Linked DNA regions of Homo sapiens: region 1 is linked to region 2. Evidence: promoter capture Hi-C in 16 types of primary human blood cells and fetal thymus (Javierre and others, 2016). All regions are on one chromosome and are shown on one strand. The core of a region is centred on a gene start or on the middle of the fragment in contact, and the rest is flanking DNA. Distances in the headings are between cores, read along the strand shown.

Region 1 (4,343 bases), core at 1,565-4,064, 290 kb after region 2:
TGGTCACCCTCCCCACGTCCCCACAAGTAGAGAGGACCCTGGAAGGGCTCAGAGCATCCCAGACAGTGTGTGTACCTGCATGTGCACACCCCAACCCAGGTGGGCAGAGGAGGAAAGTTCTGGCATTTTGTGGAAGGTTCCACCCAGCGTTCACAAGGGTTTCCCACTGACAGTGAGAAAAAGCTTACATTTGCAATTGGTTCCTTGGAGGTTCAGGTGAACTGGGGGTCTTGGTGGGCAACACTGCTCTCCTGGGGCCTAAGTGGCCACATCTGCCCACAGGTGCAGTGAGTGGGGCCCGTGCACCATGGAGAGGGCACCCCCAGCATATTGCTGGCAACTGCAATGGCCCCAGGATGGGGCACGGCCCCTCCTGCTTGAAGCTGCCCAGGAAGCTCAGGTCTCCTTGTCCTGGGCTTAAGGTCACAGGTCCAAGAAAGCCCTGCTGTGTCCATGGAACCGGGTGTGGCGTGGCCACAGGAGGCTGGACACTGACCCAGAGCTCAGGACCCCCAAGGTCTGTAAGGCAGCCTGCAGCTCGAACCACATCCCCAGGAGCTGGGCTCCCCGCTCCACACAGTAGTGTCGCGGGCGGCACAGGGCAGCCCATGAGTGGCCACTGCTCCTCCAGTACCAGACTGGAGCTGGCTGGGGCCTCTGAAGGGCCAGGTGCCACCACATACCCAGCTGTCCCCCCGCCTTCATGTCCAGCACAGCATGGCCTCAGCTCACACCTCCCACCTCTGGGTGCACGGCCCTCAGCACAGGGCGTCGAATGCTGCTGCAGCTATGATGGTCCCTGGCTGTGGCCTGGGGCCACGGATGGGGAAAGACAGAGTCCAGGCCACCGAAGGTTGGCTCCAGGGAATTACAGCCCCTTAGAGCAGGGCGTGGGACCATCCTCCCACCACCTGCGCTGGCCGTGGCTCTGTGAATCTCGTTTGCCTGGGAACCAGCCCAGGTGCCAACCCGCCCTCTCGGCCCCACAGGGGCCCCTGGGCAGGTGGGCTCAGGGCAGAGGCCGGTCACATGGGCACCACAGGGCAGACTGAAGAGGACACACTCCCGGCTTCCCTGAGCTCCCACTGGGAGAGCCAGGACACAGCCTGGGCCCCCACACGCCACAGAGCAGGACCCCCACCAGCCGTCCTAACACACCCCATTCTCTGCCCCATCTGGGGCTAGGCCTGCCCCACTGCACCCAAAGACCTTGCCATCCTCCACCCAAAACCCCCAGGCGGCTCTGTCTCCTGCCTTAAATGTCCAAACCCCAAACTCAGTGGGCACGTCTGCTGCCCCCTGACCCCTACTCACAAACGCAGCGCTGCCCTCCGTCCTCCCAGAGCCCCTGCCCGTTGCCACCTGCCAGGAGAATCACCTCGAACCGGCCATGACCTCCAACCCTCCACGTGACCCAGCACCAGCCTCCAGCGCTCCAGTGGAAACTGTAACCACAAACCTAGCACGCTGCTGTTGTGTTTTGTTTCACGCCCAAAGAATGAAGCTGACCAAAAAAGGCAACTATATTTAAAGTAAATGTATGTGATTCTTGTCACAACAAATATTTGCATTTTCTCAGCGGCAGCTGCGGGACCTGGGTGGCTCCGACACGCCAGGCCCGGGAAGGACCCGGCACCCTCCCCTGAACTTCCTGGCTACTCATTTCCAGCGAAGTTTAATCTATTTTTAATAATCGTTCAGTTTTCAAGGAAATGGAGGAGCTGTTTTTTCCCACGGAGCGGCGGCCCTGGGAGGGGCCGGGCCCAGAGGTTCCGGCCGCGATGCCGTCAGCGCCTTCGGCAGAGTGACTGAAGCGAGATTTCGTTCTCAGAAGTGAGATGCCACGATTTCGAGGGACCAGGGAGGAGGCGGCGCCGCGGGGCCACAGCCCAGCCCCGCGCCCCGACCGCGTCACAGCCAAAGCCCCGCCGGGGTGCGCGCTGCAGAGGGGACACGCCGCTCATCAACTGGGGCAGCCGCGGTCGGTCGGCCGGTGGCGGGCGGCAGGGAAGAGGTGGGGTCCGGGACAGCCACGGAGCCCGGAGTCACCCGCGAGGCCGCCCCGGTGGTGCGTGGGGGGCGGCGCGGGGCGCGGCCGGGCGCTCAAAACTCCTCGTGCACGCTGCGCGCGTAGTCCACCAGCTTGCTGCCCGTGAAGAACTCGCTGTACTTGAGCACCTCCTCGGGCTCCAGGTGGTGGTTCTGGTTCTCGTCGGCGACGGCGATCATCTGCTTGGCCTCGTTCAGCGCGTTGTACTCGTTCATGGGGTCCATGTAGCTCTGCGGGCGAGCGGGGCACAGGTCAGCGTCGCCTTTCCCCCTCCGAGCTCCGCGGCCAGCCGCACGAAGTGGCTATTTAAGGTGCCTATTGGCTGCAGCGGGAGTGTGGGCACGTTCTGGAAGGTTCCCGAAGGGAGGCGGCACAAATGAAAACACAGGGCAGGGAGAAGCCGGGGGCCCCGGAAGGCCTGCCCGGGGCCAGCAGGGGTAACGGGGCACAGGGGCTACACAGGCCTGGACCCCAGTTCTGAAGGATCCCTAACCTGGGCCGGGCCCACTGGCTGTCGCCAGGAATCACAGGATTCTACATAAAAACAAGATGACTCACTCAGCAGTGGGAGAAAAACAAGCCTACACATGATACCAGTGAAAACGCTTCAGAGGAAGGTGGTAAATTCCAGCCATGTGGCACAGGCCGCCCCGCCCACCTGCACCTGCTGGGCCTTGGACCTGCCTCCATGCTGGGCCCAGCATGAGCTTCCCCTTGTGGTCCCGTTAAAAAGGGGCTGTGAGAACCCTGACGCCTCCGCAAGGGGCTGAGGATGGAGCCCGGCCAGGCTCGCCTGTCTCTGATCCGTCTGAACCTAAACGCCAACAACGGCCATGCAGCCTGGTGGACACCGCTGAGCAAACGCCCCAGTGACCAGCCCAGATGGAGTCTCAGGCCAGACACCAGCACAGCTTCCTGCCTCAGGCCCAGATCCACCAGCCCCTCCCGCCACAGCACCTCGCAGGGCCGGCTCCGGGACACGGCTGCGCCAGGGCTCACCTCCAGCTCCTCGGCGGTCACGATGCCGTCGTGGTTGGAGTCAATGAGCTCCTCAAACTCCTTTTTTCTGTCTTTCACCCAGTTGTCGTCAATGTCCTGGCCCTGCTGGTTCTCCACGGTGCCCACGGGCAGGGAGATGAACTCGGGCACAGAGAGCTGCTTGTCACCGTCCTGGTCTGCGAGACGGGAATGGGTCAGCCCACACCCAGGCTGGGGCTCCCGCAGGACCTGCCCCGACCTCCCGACGATGCCCGGCCCCTGCCAGTCGGTCCTGGGTCCTGGCGTGCCGGCCAGGCTGGACCCAGCCTCACCCAGGTCCCGGACGATCTCCTTCACCATGAACCTGAGCATTCCCCGGCTGTGCTCGGGGTGGAGGAACGACAGGAACTCCTCCTCCGTCAGCAGCAGGTCTGCAGGGGGGCTGTCCGCCTGGTACCAGCGGTCCTTCAGGTTCTCCAGGACTTCCTGTGCTGAGAGGGGCGCAGCCTGTGGGTATCGAGGCCGACAGACGCCAGCACGCAAATCCAGAAAGTTCCGAGAGGTGCTGCCTGAACTCGAGGGACACAGCCACCCGCGAGACCGGGGCCCCACCCTCCAGGATTCACACGTCCCCAGAACATGGCCCAGCCCCTAAGACACAGCCTGGACCCCCGCCAAGACATAACCCAGAGCCTCCCACAGGCCTGATCCCCAAAGGCATAGCTTGGACCCCTCCACACAGCCCGGACTCCCCAAGACAGCCTGGACCCCCCCCTGCCCCAGACCCCCAATACATGGATGGCCCTGACTCCCCACAGACACAGCCCAGACCCCCAGGACATGGCCTGGACCCCCCACACAGCCCAGACCTCTCAAGACATGATCCAGAACCTCCCCATGGCCCAGACCACCCCAGGACACAGCTCAGAGCCCCTCATGCCTGGGACCCCTCAGGATGGGCCTGGGCCCCACCCCCCACACCCGCGCCTGCCCCTCTGGAGGAGCGGAATCACCCTGAAGGCTGACGTGCGCACGGCGCCGCGGGGCGAAGGACTCACTGCCCTTTTCCGTTTCCTTCACGTGTGACGTCACAGGGAGGAAAACACAGTTTCTAGAAATGACTGAGACTGGGGCTGAGCAGAGCTTCCCAGGAACCCTCCCAGCCGGGACACGGCACTGCCTCTGGGTGTGTGGCCCCCGCTCTCCTGCCGTGCCCACCCGGCCCCAACGGGCCCTCACCCCGAGGTCCCCACACATCCCAAGGACCCAAGCCACCCTGGGTCTCCAGGACAGAAACACCACCTCCTGCCCCATC
Region 2 (4,311 bases), core at 1,719-4,218:
ACCTCTGGGTCATCTCCGGCTGGGGCTGTACCACATCTGGGCTCAATAAATGGTTGATTGATTGATGAGGGGATGGATGAGAAGGGCTCTAAGAGAAATGCTGGGGAGCCTGGGCAGGCACTCCCGGATGGCGGAGGCGGCATGCGGGCTGGGGCAGCGGCCCCTGGCGCCCCCACACTCCCCCAGGACGTCTGGGGTCACCGTCTGCTCCATGGCAGCCCCAGGGTTATTTATGACCTCCTCCCTCTGGCGGCGGGAGGCAGGCTCCAGCCTCAGCCCAGCGGCGGAGGGGCCCCAGCAGGGGGACCCGGAGCAGCGACAGAGGCACCAAGGCCCAGGCAGGCGGGGCTCGGTGGGCCGGAGGAGGGGCGGTGGAGTCCACACCGCCAGGTCCCTGCCTCGCTCAGGATGATTCCAGCGCCAGAACTCCGTTCCTCTGGCCTCTGCCGCCAGCCTGAGGAGTGCAGGGGAGAGTGGGGCCCAGGTGTCCCAGACCAAGACAGGTGTGTGAGTGGACATGGGACACAGGTGTGGTAGTGGAGGACACGTGTGAGCAAGTGAACACATCACACAGATGTGCGAGCAGACACAAGACATGGGACACAGGTGCGCCAGTGAACACGGGACTGGTGTAAGCCAGCGGGCATGAGACACGGGTGTGAGCGAGTGGACACGGGACACGTGTGAGTGGGCACGGACAGTACAGGTGTGAGCGAGTGGACACGAGACACAGGTGTGGGAGTGGACACAGGTGTGTGGGAGTGGACACAGAACAGGTGTGAACATGGACACGGACACGGGTGTGTGTGAGTGGACAGGACCAAGGAAGGGGCACAACCCCGTGGAAAAGGGTGATGCTGGGGGTGAGGAGCCTGGTCCTGTGGGAACGTGGCCTCTGAACGGGTGCCTGCTTCCCAGGAAGACAAGGAGGTGGTGGGGAAGGCCTCCTCACCCAGCCCCTGGAGGGACCTCCAGAACATCAGGGAGTGGACAGTGAGGATAGAGGGGTGCCTCCAGCTTTGGACCCAGTCAGGGTCTTTTCTGGAAGACACCATGGGCCCCGGGTAGGCCCCCACACCCAGCCAGAAACCCAGGGCCAGCCCCATGCCCCTCCTTAACCACACTGTGGGCCTGAGCATGATGAGATGCTGGTGAACAGGGGAGGGCTCTTGGAAGGGAAAGGAGGCCCCTCTGCTGGCCCAGGTCAGAGGAGAGGCCTGGCCCAAGGGCCTCAGACCCTGAGAGGCACTGCCATGCAGACCTGCGCCTCCCCAGCCTCCCTCTCCAAATCACTGTGTGAACATCAGGGAGTCAGGTGCAGGCGAACCTAGAAGGAGGGTCAGGTGCAGGTGAACCTAGTAGCCCACACACGGGCAGTAGGGTCAGGGCTGCATCCAGACAGTGGGCACTCAGGGCCAGTCCACATGGCCTCCAGCTGGCCCCAGGAGCAGACTTTCCACATGGTATCAGACCTGGGAGAAGACACAGACTTCAGGAGAGGAAGGCACAGGAACTCACTGGCAGCCACAGCTGGGGTCAGGGATGTGCTGGTGTCCTGGATGCAGACAGGTTGATAGGGCCAAGGGTGGCCACATAAGGAAGGGTCACCGACACTCACACCCACACTCCTACCTGGCCCCCCAGACCCCAACAGACCAACGAGCCCCCACAGAACAGGGCCAGGATAGCGGGGGAGGCTTCTGGGCATGTTCCTTGCCTGAGCAGAGCACTCCTGGCCCAGACCTCACTCCGCGGGTTGGCTGTGGGACCAGCAGAAGCCTCTGGTGAGATAAGGTGAAGGAGCCCAGCGTGGTCACCCAGGGTCAGGTTTATGCTCAAGGAAGCTGGTCTGGCAGGAGGTGGTGGTGGGCTGTTCCCTCCCTCGAAGAAGGCACCTGTGCAAACAGGCCTGTGGCCCACTCACCCCTGGACCTGCTCTGGGAGATGCCCACAGGGACATGCCAGCTGCATCTCAAGGGCAGGGGCCAGGGTCAGAACAGGAGGCCCCTTTCTAGTGGATGCAACACCGCACAGCAGCGCAGGACAAGGCTGTCTCACCTGCTGTTACCAACGCCCCCAGGTTGTGTTTCTCTTCGGAACGCTCCAGATGCAATGCCGATCTGGGCACGCAGGGAGGTGGGGGGTGATGGGAAGCTCACCAGGAACCAGGGACTGGGGCCCAGACTGACCTGTCAGAAGGCACCAAGGTGGACGTGGTGTGGCCGGTCCTGCTTCACTAGCCTTGCTCCTCCTAGTGGGAGGCCGTGCACTCTGCCAACCCGCTATCCCCCACCCTCACCCTGCCTCGGATCCACACCACCTTCCTGCTGGGAGGTGTGGGGTGACAGGAAGCTCTTGCCCCACACCATGGTCCTGGCGCGGTCCTGGTGTGAGACATCCTGCATTTGAAACAGCTGTGTGACTTCAGGAGAGTTACTTGACCTTTCTGTCTCAGCGTCTTCTGCAAAAGACTGAACAGGAACTCCGTGGCTCGGGCGAACTCACTCCTGTCAAGTGCATAGGAAGGGGCACGAGTGGGCGGGGAGGTGCTGCCCTGTTATTCACAGAACACTTTGCCCAGGCAACACACTACAAATCCACAACCTCGCTCCCTGCAGGTGCACTGAGACCACCCACGCCCTCCCGGACACCAACGCCCACCATCAGATTCGCTGCGCAAAGTCCCAGAGCCGCCGGCGCACGCTCACACCCCGGCGAGCAGCCCCCAGCTCCCTCCCTCCGAGAGGAGCCCGGTCCGCGACCAGCCCAGCCCATCCCAGTCCCGCGCGGAGTCCTGGATTCCAGCCGCTCGCAGTGACTCGGTACTCGGGATAGTGCCGGGGGCCGCAGCCCTGTCCCGCTGCCGCCGCCGGATGCCCCGAGTCGGCCGTCACGCACCCCCCGCGGGAGCCCGCGCCGCCCGCCGCGCCGGGGCCGTTTAAATGGGCCAAGTTGTGGCGGCGGCGTCGGCGGCGGAGTCTCCCAAGTCCCCGCCGGGCGGGCGCGCGCCAGTGGACGCGGGTGCACGACTGACGCGGCCCGGGCGGCGGGGCGGGGGCTTGGGACCCCCGAGAGGGGCGGGGACTCCGCGACTCCTCGCTGCCGGGCTCGGCCTGGCGGGTGGGTCGGCGAGCCGGGCGTGGGACTGCCCCGGGCGCGGGCGCTGGTGGCCGGGGCGCGGGACTCCAGACGCCCCGGGGAGCCCCGAGGCCCTGGAACTGCGGCGCTCGGCGAGTCGATCCGGGATCGATAGCAGCTCCATGTCTCCGGCCTCTGAGGCCCCGCCGGCCGGCTGGGCAGTCCGGGGAGGCCTGGCGGGCGGCGCGTAGGCGGCGGCTGCGGGCGCCGGGGCGCACTAGCGGACGGCGTGGGCGCGCGGCCAGGCGCCTCCCCGGCCCCCGCGACCCAACTCCAGCCCGGGCCGGAATAAGTTGCTGCCGCCGGCGGAGAGCGGGGCTGCGGAGCCACCGGGGCGCCATGCCGGCGGTCAAGAAGGAGTTCCCGGGCCGCGAGGACCTGGCCCTGGCTCTGGCCACGTTCCACCCGACCCTGGCCGCGCTGCCGCTGCCGCCGCTGCCAGGCTACCTGGCGCCACTGCCCGCGGCGGCCGCCCTCCCCCCGGCCGCCTCGCTGCCCGCCTCGGCCGCCGGTTACGAGGCTCTGCTGGCCCCGCCGCTCCGCCCCCCGCGCGCCTACCTCAGCCTGCACGAGGCCGCCCCGCACCTCCACCTGCCCAGGGACCCGCTGGCCCTCGAGCGCTTCTCGGCCACCGCGGCCGCGGCCCCGGATTTCCAGCCGCTGCTGGACAACGGCGAGCCGTGCATCGAGGTGGAGTGCGGCGCCAACCGCGCGCTGCTCTACGTGCGCAAACTCTGCCAGGGCAGCAAGGGCCCGTCCATCCGCCACCGCGGCGAGTGGCTCACGCCCAACGAGTTCCAGTTCGTCAGCGGCCGCGAGACGGCCAAGGACTGGAAGCGCAGCATCCGCCACAAAGGTGCCGCCGCCCCTCCCTTCGCTGCCGGGACCCGCGGGCCCCGACCCCACCCCCTACCCGACTCGGACACCCGGGAGCCTCCGGCTCGGCCGAGGGGGCGCTGCAGCTCCAGGGCTGCGCGGGGACACCCCCGCCGCGCGCGGAGGCCTCGGTGAACACGGACAGATCGCCCCCCGCTGCACCTCCCCCCAGCTTGGGCCACAGCGCTTGGGGCTCGCGGGCCGCTCCCTCCGCTCGGAAGGTCTCTGCGAGGCTCCTGGGCCTTAAGGCCCGAAGGAAGTTTACGGGGACTCGAGAGAGCGGGCAGGAGGCGGGTT

Evidence for each region. The method cuts DNA at HindIII sites, captures the fragments that hold promoters and counts their contacts. A CHiCAGO score of 5 or more calls a contact.
Region 1: a contact is called between a fragment that was not itself captured here and the fragment with the promoter of SAMD11 in region 2, in 2 of 17 cell types (erythroblasts and neutrophils). The highest score is 6.6, in erythroblasts.

What each region holds. Positions count from the first base shown.
Region 1 is chr1:1,215,409-1,219,751 of GRCh38, forward strand. It overlaps SDF4 (stromal cell derived factor 4), which reads right to left. Exons shown (of 7, transcript NM_016176.6): 5 at 3,361-3,519; 6 at 3,050-3,225; 7 at 1,523-2,280. The coding sequence ends at 2,104. Among named protein-coding and RNA genes, the nearest start is that of TNFRSF4, 3.4 kb to the left of the region's middle. The HindIII fragment of the contact is 5,266 bases long and covers 182-4,343 here.
Region 2 is chr1:920,955-925,265 of GRCh38, forward strand. It overlaps SAMD11 (sterile alpha motif domain containing 11), which reads left to right and starts at 2,969. Exons shown (of 14, transcript NM_001385641.1): 1 at 2,969-3,994. The coding sequence starts at 3,478. LOC107985728 (collagen alpha-1(III) chain-like) reads right to left here. Exons shown (of 5, transcript NR_168405.1): 2 at 2,321-2,507; 3 at 2,059-2,189; 4 at 1,718-1,781; 5 at 1-1,555. It overlaps LOC284600 (a long non-coding RNA gene), which reads left to right. Exons shown (of 5, transcript XR_007065342.1): 5 at 1-65. RefSeq lists enhancers at 1-172, 2,014-2,592, 4,258-4,311. The HindIII fragment of the contact is 23,463 bases long and covers 1-4,311 here.